Linked DNA regions of Homo sapiens: region 1 is linked to region 2. Evidence: promoter capture Hi-C in 16 types of primary human blood cells and fetal thymus (Javierre and others, 2016). All regions are on one chromosome and are shown on one strand. Each heading gives the region's core, a stretch centred on a gene start or on the middle of the fragment in contact. The rest is flanking DNA. Distances are from core to core; before and after follow the strand shown.

Evidence for each region. The method cuts DNA at HindIII sites, captures the fragments that hold promoters and counts their contacts. A CHiCAGO score of 5 or more calls a contact.
Region 1: the fragment with the promoter of HMGN3-AS1 here is called in contact with the fragment with the promoter of CYB5R4 in region 2 in 1 of 17 cell types (fetal thymus); the score reaches 7.8 in fetal thymus.

The regions. Positions count from the first base shown.
Region 1 is chr6:79,232,314-79,237,361 of GRCh38, reverse strand. It overlaps HMGN3-AS1 (HMGN3 antisense RNA 1), which reads right to left and starts at 3,688. Exons shown (of 2, transcript NR_040671.1): 1 at 3,435-3,688; 2 at 562-3,300. It overlaps HMGN3 (high mobility group nucleosomal binding domain 3), which reads left to right and starts at 2,680. Exons shown (of 7, transcript NM_001201363.2): 1 at 2,680-2,816. The coding sequence starts at 2,802. RefSeq lists enhancers at 2,562-3,351, 3,352-4,142 and a silencer at 3,355-3,404. The HindIII fragment of the contact is 3,424 bases long and covers 561-3,984 here.
Region 2 is chr6:83,858,044-83,862,568 of GRCh38, reverse strand. It overlaps CYB5R4 (cytochrome b5 reductase 4), which reads right to left and starts at 2,880. Exons shown (of 16, transcript NM_016230.4): 1 at 2,712-2,880. The coding sequence starts at 2,786. All of the region lies in intron 3 of RIPPLY2-CYB5R4 (RIPPLY2-CYB5R4 readthrough), which reads right to left. RefSeq lists a silencer at 2,760-2,809. The HindIII fragment of the contact is 3,476 bases long and covers 1,675-4,525 here.

The DNA of each region.
Region 1 (5,048 bases), core at 2,439-4,938, 4.6 Mb after region 2:
GGAGCTGGAATTGGAAAACAAGTTTGTTCACTATTTTTTTTCTTTCTGTCTCAGTCAGTAACTCTGTTAATTTATCCAGGTCTACCTTAGCTAAGATAGTATATACATCCTACTTTTACTGTCTTAGAGGCTGATATTCCAAAGTAGTAGAAATGCTCAGTGGAATATATTGATAAACAAATGAGTCTGTACTTCTTACCAGCTTGACCTCCTCACTGTCTTCTATGTGACACCCTCATTTCTGCCCAGATGTCTTTATCTCTTAACCTAGAATTCTAGCTACCTGCTAAATCATTCTCTTTGCCTACTCTTCTTACCTCCAGGGCCACCAGTAGAGGTTTGCACTGACTTTCCCAGATCTTGAAGGCTACTAAAGGTACAAGGGAGAACACTTCATTTCCTAGAGTAGTGCTCAGCCAGGTGCAATCTACATCAAAGGAAAGATAAGCAATGCTGTTGTTTTTCAACCGAAGCTGTTATTTTCATAACTTGTAAATGAACTAAAGATTCCAAGAACTCGAGGTCCTCACAATCAGCTTTCTTCATCCAACAAGCAAGCTTCAATTTCATCGTAGCATTTTTATTGTGTGCAGTAAAAACATTCACAATTTTGTTTGCTGTTGATGATCTGAGTGTTTGGTTTTGAAAAAAAATTAACAAAGAAGCCAATTTTGTGAGTTATTTTTCATCACAGAGGAGAAATATTCACCTTAGCACTACCTTTGTTGTGGCACCTTTCCATCTCCATGAAGAAAAATAGCCATCCAGTCCAGATTGCAAGTGCTACTCAGTATCCTTCTCACACATATCTTACTAAAAATGTTTTCACTGACTTTTTCTTTATTTAACTATCAAGTATTTGGCAAATTAATATCTTGAAAGACATCTTCATTATAAATATTATTTTAATGATAAAATTATTAACTTGTAAATTTTTATCTAGCTCTAAGCAATTGGTTTTTATCTTAATTCGTTTCAGTATACTATTGTCATTCACTGAATGCCCAAGAACAGGGAATCTATCAAAAATGATTAAGATCATGTCAAAAGGACACAAGCACTAATTTGAAAGGGTATGCATTGGCTAAAGATGTGGTAATAGGAGCATTAAAAAGGTAATAATAATGATAGCAATACACTGATGCACACCAAATATGTAAAAATCCATGAGTTCATAAAGATGTTCCAAAAAAGAAAGTAATCAACCACCTCTGGAGAGTACTAGATCAATTAATGTATTCTGAAAATTACTAAAGAAAAAGTGAAATATTAAACTTCATTGCTTTTTTAATACATATTTAATACATGATATTTTTAATACATATTTGCAGCCTCTGTGTTACCAAAGTGGATTTGGCCATATTTGTAATGTAAGGCTTCAACACATTTTCCTATGATGTGAGCTTTGCCTGCTAAGATGATTCTGAAACTAACTTTGCCCAATTTTGCTTTTTCTATAATTTCATATGAATGCAATCATTCAGTGTGGTCTTTTGTATTTGACTTCTTTCGTACAGCACTTTGTTTTTGATATTCATCCATGTAGGAAAATTTTTTATTGTTTTTTATTGCTGAATAGTATTCCACTGCATGTGCTCATCACAATTTGCTTACCCATTCACTAGCGCTTTTCCTGCATCTGCTGAAAGGATTGTTTTTCCCCCTTTATTCTATTAATCCTGCCAATTACATTGATTGATTCTCAGATATTAAAAAAGCAGCTTTGCATTCCCAAGATAAGCCCCACAGGTCATGATGTATTGTCCCTTTAAATGTTGTTGAGTTTCATTTACTAAAATTTTGTTCACGACTTTTGTGTCTATGTTTATGAGTGATATTGGTCTGTAACTCTCTTTTGAAGTCTTTCACTGGTTTTGGTATCAGAGTAAATCTGGTCTCATAAAATGAATTCAGAAATATTTTTGCAATGCTCATTTTATGCCTTGCAGAACTTTGAGAAATATTACGCATAAAGTGTAACATGACGGGTGTCATTCAAATATATGTCTCAAATATAAAATAATCAGTTTTTGCCTTGTTCTTTCTTTTCCTAATTTCCGTAACAAACATGTCCTATTCGTCTTCACATCTAGTTTGAAGTTAGCTGAATTAGTGAGTGATTTATAATCACAGATTTCAGAAAATTAGAGCTAAGTGATTTTAGGGACTGTTGTCACTATATATCTAGGGGGGGAAACTGAGGCCTTTAGAAGTTGCCACGCTCTTCCAGTACAGAGTACCTTCCCACGCTTTACAGATTCCCACCATGTAACATTCATTAAAAGCCTTTATGGGTAGGAAATGAATAAGGTACCTGCTGTGTATATATTTACATTATAAAGTTTACGTATTCATTCTTACTCTTTTTCCTTCCTATGAAGACACACACTGTTCTTATTCTTACAATCTCAAAGAGAGAGCAGCGAAACAATGAAACTTCAGGATTGTGTGGCCTGGAGGCTACTAGTTGAACTGGGCATGCTCAGTCGCCAGGCAGATTTTTTTCGGTGAAGTGGAAACTACAACAGCGCGTACCGCGCGCGGAGGTGGGCGTGCCCTCGTGGAATTTAGAACGTTGCCTCAGCCAATGGGGCCTCGCGGCCGGCTGGCGGGGCTCCTCATTGGAGCAGCAGGGAGGCGAGCAGAGGGCCCCCAGAGGGAGCCGCGGAGGTGCAGGTCGAAGAGGCCGGGCTACGTCGTGCCCTGCGCGTGAGCAGCTGCAGAGGCAGAGGCAGCATCCAGCGGCGGCGCCAGCAGTTCCAGTCCGTTGCTTTACTTTTTGCTTCACCGACATAGTCATTATGCCGAAGAGAAAGGTAAGTCTTACCAAAAAAAGATTTCAAAAGCCTTCAAATTCTGCTTACAGTAAATGCTGGCATTGCAATGGCTCGCGCAGAACGCGCGCGGTAGTAACCCGGGGATTGGGAATCTTTGCTCCTCCACGCTTGTTTTTAGATGCCTGTTGCAGACGTTCCTCTCTCTGTCCCCCCTACCCACTCCGTCCTCATCGATCTCTTAATGTTACTTTCTCTCCAGTGACGCGGTTTCCCTTCTTTTTGAACTCATTCTCGCTGGAATGTTTTCCACCCCCAACAACAAGAAGCAAAAGCGGCTTTCCATTCCGAAAGGGAGTTTCCTCTTTGCAAACTGCCAGGTTGCGAATTAGTGTGAAGGGAAAACAGCGAGAGGAGAAAAACAAGTACAAGCGTAAGGAGAGGGAAGAAAATAAATCAGGCAAATGTTGGGATTATTCCCATGCGGCTGTACTCGCGGGCTGGGTGCGCTGCGGTGGCTCCTAGGCTAAGGGAAAGAGAAAGCCATGTTTAAAATAGCGCTCACCCTCCTGCTCGCCTCCGCTGCAGACCCGTATGTACCAACTCCAGTGTCAATCAGGGCTGGGGCCGGCGAGGCGGGGCCTGGCGGCCTGGACCTACCCGCAGTTCGGGGCGGGAGCGGTGGAGTTGGCAGCGTGGAAGACGGGACGGCGCCGGGGCGTCCAATATGGCTCGTCCAAGGTCAGGGGGCCACCAGGTCCTCCCCAGCGACTGGAACCCACACTCGGTTGGGGAAGGCGGGGTCCGCGCGCTATCCGCCCCTCTGCGCGTCTAGCGAACTGGAGTCATTTTTGTCTTGTCTTCCGCCCCTTGCGGACTGTCCTCTTCTGCGCAGGCCCCGGACACCAACTACTACATTCAGGGACACAAATCTCCCTCGGGGTGGGGCTTCGACTTGTCCCGGGGAGGGAAGGGAAAGGTTTCCTCCTCCCTGAGAAATCAGTGAGGATTTCTCAGCTGGTTCCTAAGCAAGTGCTTTGCACCCTCCCACCGCCAGCCTCAGTGTTTCCAACAGTGTCAACGAGTGTGGGTATTAAATTTGAAGCAAAATTACACCTAATGTCTTGCTTTATCAAAGACCATGGACTAATTTGTGTGTGAGAGTGACTGCATTATTTTAAAATACTGAAGTTTTAAAAATTCAAAAGCTTTCCCCTTCTTATATGTTATTACTAAAAATTGGGTAGAAACTTGTCTCCTACCCCACTTTTTAAAAATAATTGAAAGTGTTTAAAAGTCTTAGAGTTTGTTGTGCACATACTGTGTCCCTCACGCTGTGCAGAATTTGACTTGCATTATCTCATTTAATCCTGAAAACAGCTTGAGCGGTGTTACCCCCATTCAGCTGGGACTTAAAGACATAAATTGTCCTGCATCTCACCAACCAATAACTACTAGTAAAGATTTAATCAGATGCTATAGATGCCAAAGTCTTATTCTCACCCATTTCGTACTCACTTACGAAAGGGTGGGTCAAGAGGAATTAAGGAAATCCAAAGGTACTCCCAGTTTAAGAAGACAGATGGCATATTAAGAGCACTAATACTTGAGATTTATTATTTAAACTTAATTTTATGAAGGTATTTTCTAGCCCTGTTTTACTAGAATTAGGATATTAAGTGATGTCACCATTTTCAGCATTTTGACTGAGGGTTAATGATGGATTGGAAATTCTAGTAGAGACAAAGGAACTAATCATCAAGATACGGGTTACAGAGTAAGTGAGCTGGAGGCCATCTTTTTTTCCTGGGAATTATAACCATTGTTTACATAAACAGTAGGTTAGGTGTGCACACTTTATGTATAATGGACCCTGACGATGGAACCCTTCCTTGCTGTTTATTCAAGGGCCAGAGCTGCTGAAACCATTATTCTTACTTCCCCTGTCTGCCTCTCTCAAGGAGACGGAAGGAAAAAAAAAAAAAACTAAAATAACAGTAAAATTACAGCTACAGTTTTATTTCCCTGGAAGGCAGGGAACCCCCATGCATAAGCTAGCCAATGGTCCTGAGACTAGGGGCAAAACTGTGTACAGGCACCTGTGTGTCATTCCTGAGGACATCAGAGTGTTCTCCGGTGATGGAAAACCTCTCCTTGATTAATAGGAAGGCTTTCCATTTATACCTGAAGCCTAACGACCTCAGTTGGTACCTGGGCAGGAACAACCTCAGATTAAACACGGCGATCATGGCCATCCATCTATCAGTCAAGTCT
Region 2 (4,525 bases), core at 1,631-4,130:
AAATGGGAACTGATTATTTGATTCCTTTATTGCTGTCAAGTACTTGCTTATAGTAGTGTTGCTTTCCCTGCATGGATCAACCTCACTCCAACTCCCATTAATTCCTCTGGAAGGCTTCTCTGATCCTCAACTCCTTAGTGGTCATACCACCCTGTTGTAGTACTTATGACTTTATAACTGAATGTTCACTATTTCATGCAACCTATGAGACTAAACACCTTGAAATCAGAGACCAAAAACTCCAGCATATGGTAGGTTCTCAATAAGTATTTGTTTACCAGTATTAATAGAAATAATAACTATCATATGTTGAGTGCATATTCTGTGTCACACTCAAGTCTGTGAGATCTGAATAAAAGCCTCAGGACAAGTAGCATTTACTGGGTGCTTACCAAGGCTGTGCTAAGAGAAACATTATCTCATTGAATCCTATGAACAATCCTATAAAATGGGTACTGTTATTCTCATTTACATCTGAGGAAACAGACTCAAAGAGATTAACTGGCAGATATGGTGAAAGAATCTAGGTCTTTCTCACTTCAAAATCTGTGCCTTTAAAAAATTACAATAAGCCTTCACTTAAGCTAGTCACTAGGTGCTTGGAAACTAAACTATGTACAACGAAACTAATTTTACCGTGGGTTAATTGACAAACAAAATTTCCTGCAGCATATTTCTGGTCACAAAAACATCACCAGACTTCTAAATAAAGACCAAAATACTTCTAATATTAAACACTGAAAGAAATGTTAGCTATATATACATTTAAGAAAGATTAATTAAAAAACAAGTAAGATAATTATTTACCCAACTATTCCAGTTCAATGTCACAGGTAGTCAGAGCCTATCCCAGTAGCTCAGGGCACAAGGCAGGAACCGACCTTGGACAGGATGCCATCCTATGGCAAGGCACACTCATACACACCCAATATTCACACAGACTGGGACCATTTAGACACACCAATTAACCTAACTTGCATATCTTTGGGCTGTAGCAGGAAACCAGAGTACCCAGAGAAAACCCACGCAGACACAGAGCATGCAAACTCCAAAGACAGTGGCCCTGGCCAAAACGAATTTTTTTTCTCATCAATATTATAACTAAATGCTGTTGAATGAAACAACACTATTTGAGAACCTTTTGTATAATACACGACCTTCCCAACTTGGTTCTATTTTCTCAACCTCTACCCATTTCATCCAAACCTGACTCAGTTTTTACATTCTCAGCATCATCTTGTTTCACAAAGAAAAGAGGAAGAAGACTGGAGTCTGACTTTTCCTTAGAATTGCACAATAATCTTATTTTGTTCTCTTTTTGGACCAAAAACTCACCTTTGCCATCGCCCCCTGTGTGACTTTTTGTCTTTGCTTCTAAGTTTTCTCCTTTAAATGGATGCTAAGAACACAGTTGGTATTTTTAACGAAGAAGGGCAGTAACTCATATTCTAATTCAGAGATTCTTTCTGGAAAGACTGTTATTCAGTCAAGTATTTAGCTTCAAGAAATAGGTCAAAAACCAATGAGAAAAATATACATGATTGGATGGCTAGATGATTGATATATGAATCAGTAAATGAAATTTCACAGCAGAACCACAACACAAGCCTACGCAATTTAGGGCAATATTTCTTAGCCAGTTTCCTTTTCTGCGAAATAGAGACAATAAAAGCTTTCACTTCAAAGGATAATTGTGAAAATTAAAGTTAATACATGCAAAGCACTGAGAATATACACGGCCACCCGTAAGTACTTAAGAAATCTCTGGAAAGCTAATGAAAACCACAGATCCCTGAACCTATATTCATTCTGAACTAGAATCAGAACGCCAGGTCTAAGTGGAGAAAAATAAGAAAATCGATAAGGGTTCCAAACGATGCTAAGACTCAAGAGTTAACCGAGTGGCCCAAGTTAAGTGGAAGTGTCACAAACGAAAGATAAAGATATGGTTACAGAATGAGGAACTAACAAATAGGAACAAACAACATTCGCAAAAGAACAAAGAACACAATTTTTATTGAATTCTGCAAATATAAAATATATCTGTACAGTATTCCACCTGTTGCTAACAGCAACTGTGCTCAACAAGAACTCAAGAGTATTATTATATTTGCTTCGAAGTTAGCAAGTGATACTAGTAGAAAAGGCAATGACAAAACAATCAGGTACCAGAGGAAGAAAGAAAGGCAGTATGTCTTGGATAGTGTCTGTAAACCTGACCTAGCTCCCCAACTCCAGAAGTCCCCATCCTTGCACGGACGGTCACTGTCGCCACTGCCAAGCCTTTCCCTCCTGCGAGGGAACCCACATCGAGTGATGTGGTACAACTCCTTCAGGCAGTGAAGAACAAAAGACCAGGGAGAAGATGAGGTTGAGGGAAGGCGGCTAATACCGAGAGCCTATAATACCGCAAACACAGTGCCTGGCTCTGTCATATAAATTTAAATCGCGGGAAAGGACTTGGAGGAAGGGAACGGATAGAGCGGGATAAAGGACCAGAAAGAAGAGGGACTGCTAGGGGAAAGGGAGGAGGTAAGGAGAGTTTAGGGACTGTAGACAAAGTGGGATCAGAAAGAGGTTGCAGGCAAGGACAGCAGGGAACGACAGCTTAGAGAGGGGTGCAGGAGCTGGGAGTTGGGGCGGAAGAAGAGAACACACTGCCAGAGCTCGAAACGCAGCGAGGGGAGAGACTCACGGAGCCACCCGCTTACCTTGCTACGCCCCCCGGAGGCGACACGCTGCTGCGACCTGGGGGCCGGGAAAGACTGGGAAGGGACGTTCAGCATCTTCAAACCCCGGCCCCGGGCCCTGCCCGGGGATCGCCGCCAGACGGGACAGCACCTCCAGCTCCGGCTCTGTGGCCGGGCAGAGGCCAAGCCCCCGACCCACTTCCGGGGTCGCCAGGGGTGAGGCGCATTCTGACGCAGCACGTCCGCGGAGGGCGGAGCCAACGGGACGGAGGGAGGGCCGGCAGGGAGGAAGTACGCATGCTCAGCTAGTTCCGCATCCCGAACTTCAGCACCGGAGCAAGGTGACAGCTATTTCGTGGAAAGATTAGAGAGTGAAGCTGTTCCTTAGCCTTGGTGCTGACCGAATGTGGGAACAAATTCTTAGTCCTGTTAACCCGGAACAGCAATGTCTGTTCATTGTTAAGCAGTACCATCACACTACTTGAAATATGGACTAAAACACACTACTTGAAATATGGACTAAAACGAATTTTAGTTTCTCTGAAATTCTTTCCTGTAAGGCACTAGGCTGTAATGCAAAGAGCATCTCACACCTTTAAGAGCAAAAATATCAAATGTCAACAGCCACTACTGTGGGGTAAGAAGAAAACCTCACCTTTAATCATCCTTAAACTTCACCTTTAAGCATGCTGAGGGCTAATGAATGCGCGAAAGACGTTAGTAAAGTCACCTTCTGCTCTATTCACCCACTCACAAATTCTCCCTCCTTATGTAACTTCCTGTCTTCACTGGGAATTGTGTACTGATGCAGCTCACCTCCAGCTGTGGTGATGAAGTAACGTTTAAAAGTCAGATTTGGTTTGCATGCCATCCCTGCACTTAATGACTGAGCTGTCTTATGCAAGTTACTTTAGTATCTCAAAGTCTCATTTTCCCCATCTGCATAATGGGTTTATTAAAGATTAAAGGATCATGTGTAAACTACATACTGCAGTGCCTGATTAATATTAGGTACTGAATAAGTGGCAGTGGCTGTTTGTGCTATTCCAACATATTAATGGGAAAAGGACCAACACTGTGCAGGTAAACACCAGGCTCTAATGCTCAAAATCTGATGGTTTTTGTTTGTTTGATTGATTGTTTTGTGTGTCCCTTGGGGAACACATAGATCTTGAGAGTAGAATCCAATAAGGGAGAAAGTTTTCAGGAGAAGAAACATAGTTCTAAATAATCCTCCCCATCCTCCTTTAATTACTAATTTTTCCTAACTCTGAACATATTGTCATGCTTTAAACTTTCTCTGTTTAACTACTTAGTTCTTAAAGTGCCTAAAAAATCAAGGTTATGTTTGCAGAATCAGAAGAAAAAGTGTGTGACTATATGTGGCCATTCAAATACAAGCATTCAAATAAGGTAGCCACCTATGACATTCACCTCTATCCATTTTTATTTGCAATTGAAATGCTTATTATGAGAAGACTGAATTTGAGCTAAAAGAACCTCATGACTATAATTAACTGTATTACTTTGACTTTGCAAATTGCTTCTGTGTTCTCTCTCATTAAATGATGACATATTCTTCTAGAGTCTACACAAGAAAAACTAATCACTGAGATTTATTTCACTTCTCGTGAGAAAACTTTTACATAAGAATATCAAAAGCAGAGAACCAGAGCAAGGAAAAGTTAATATTGTTGAAGAATGTTCCATGCTTTCCAAATTTCTTAGCTCCCCTTTGTACAGAAATGGAAGATGCTATCAACTTCTGGCCTTTAGACTCCACTTTTTTAGACTCCATATCAATCACTCAAATTTAAACGTTTTGTTTTAATTCT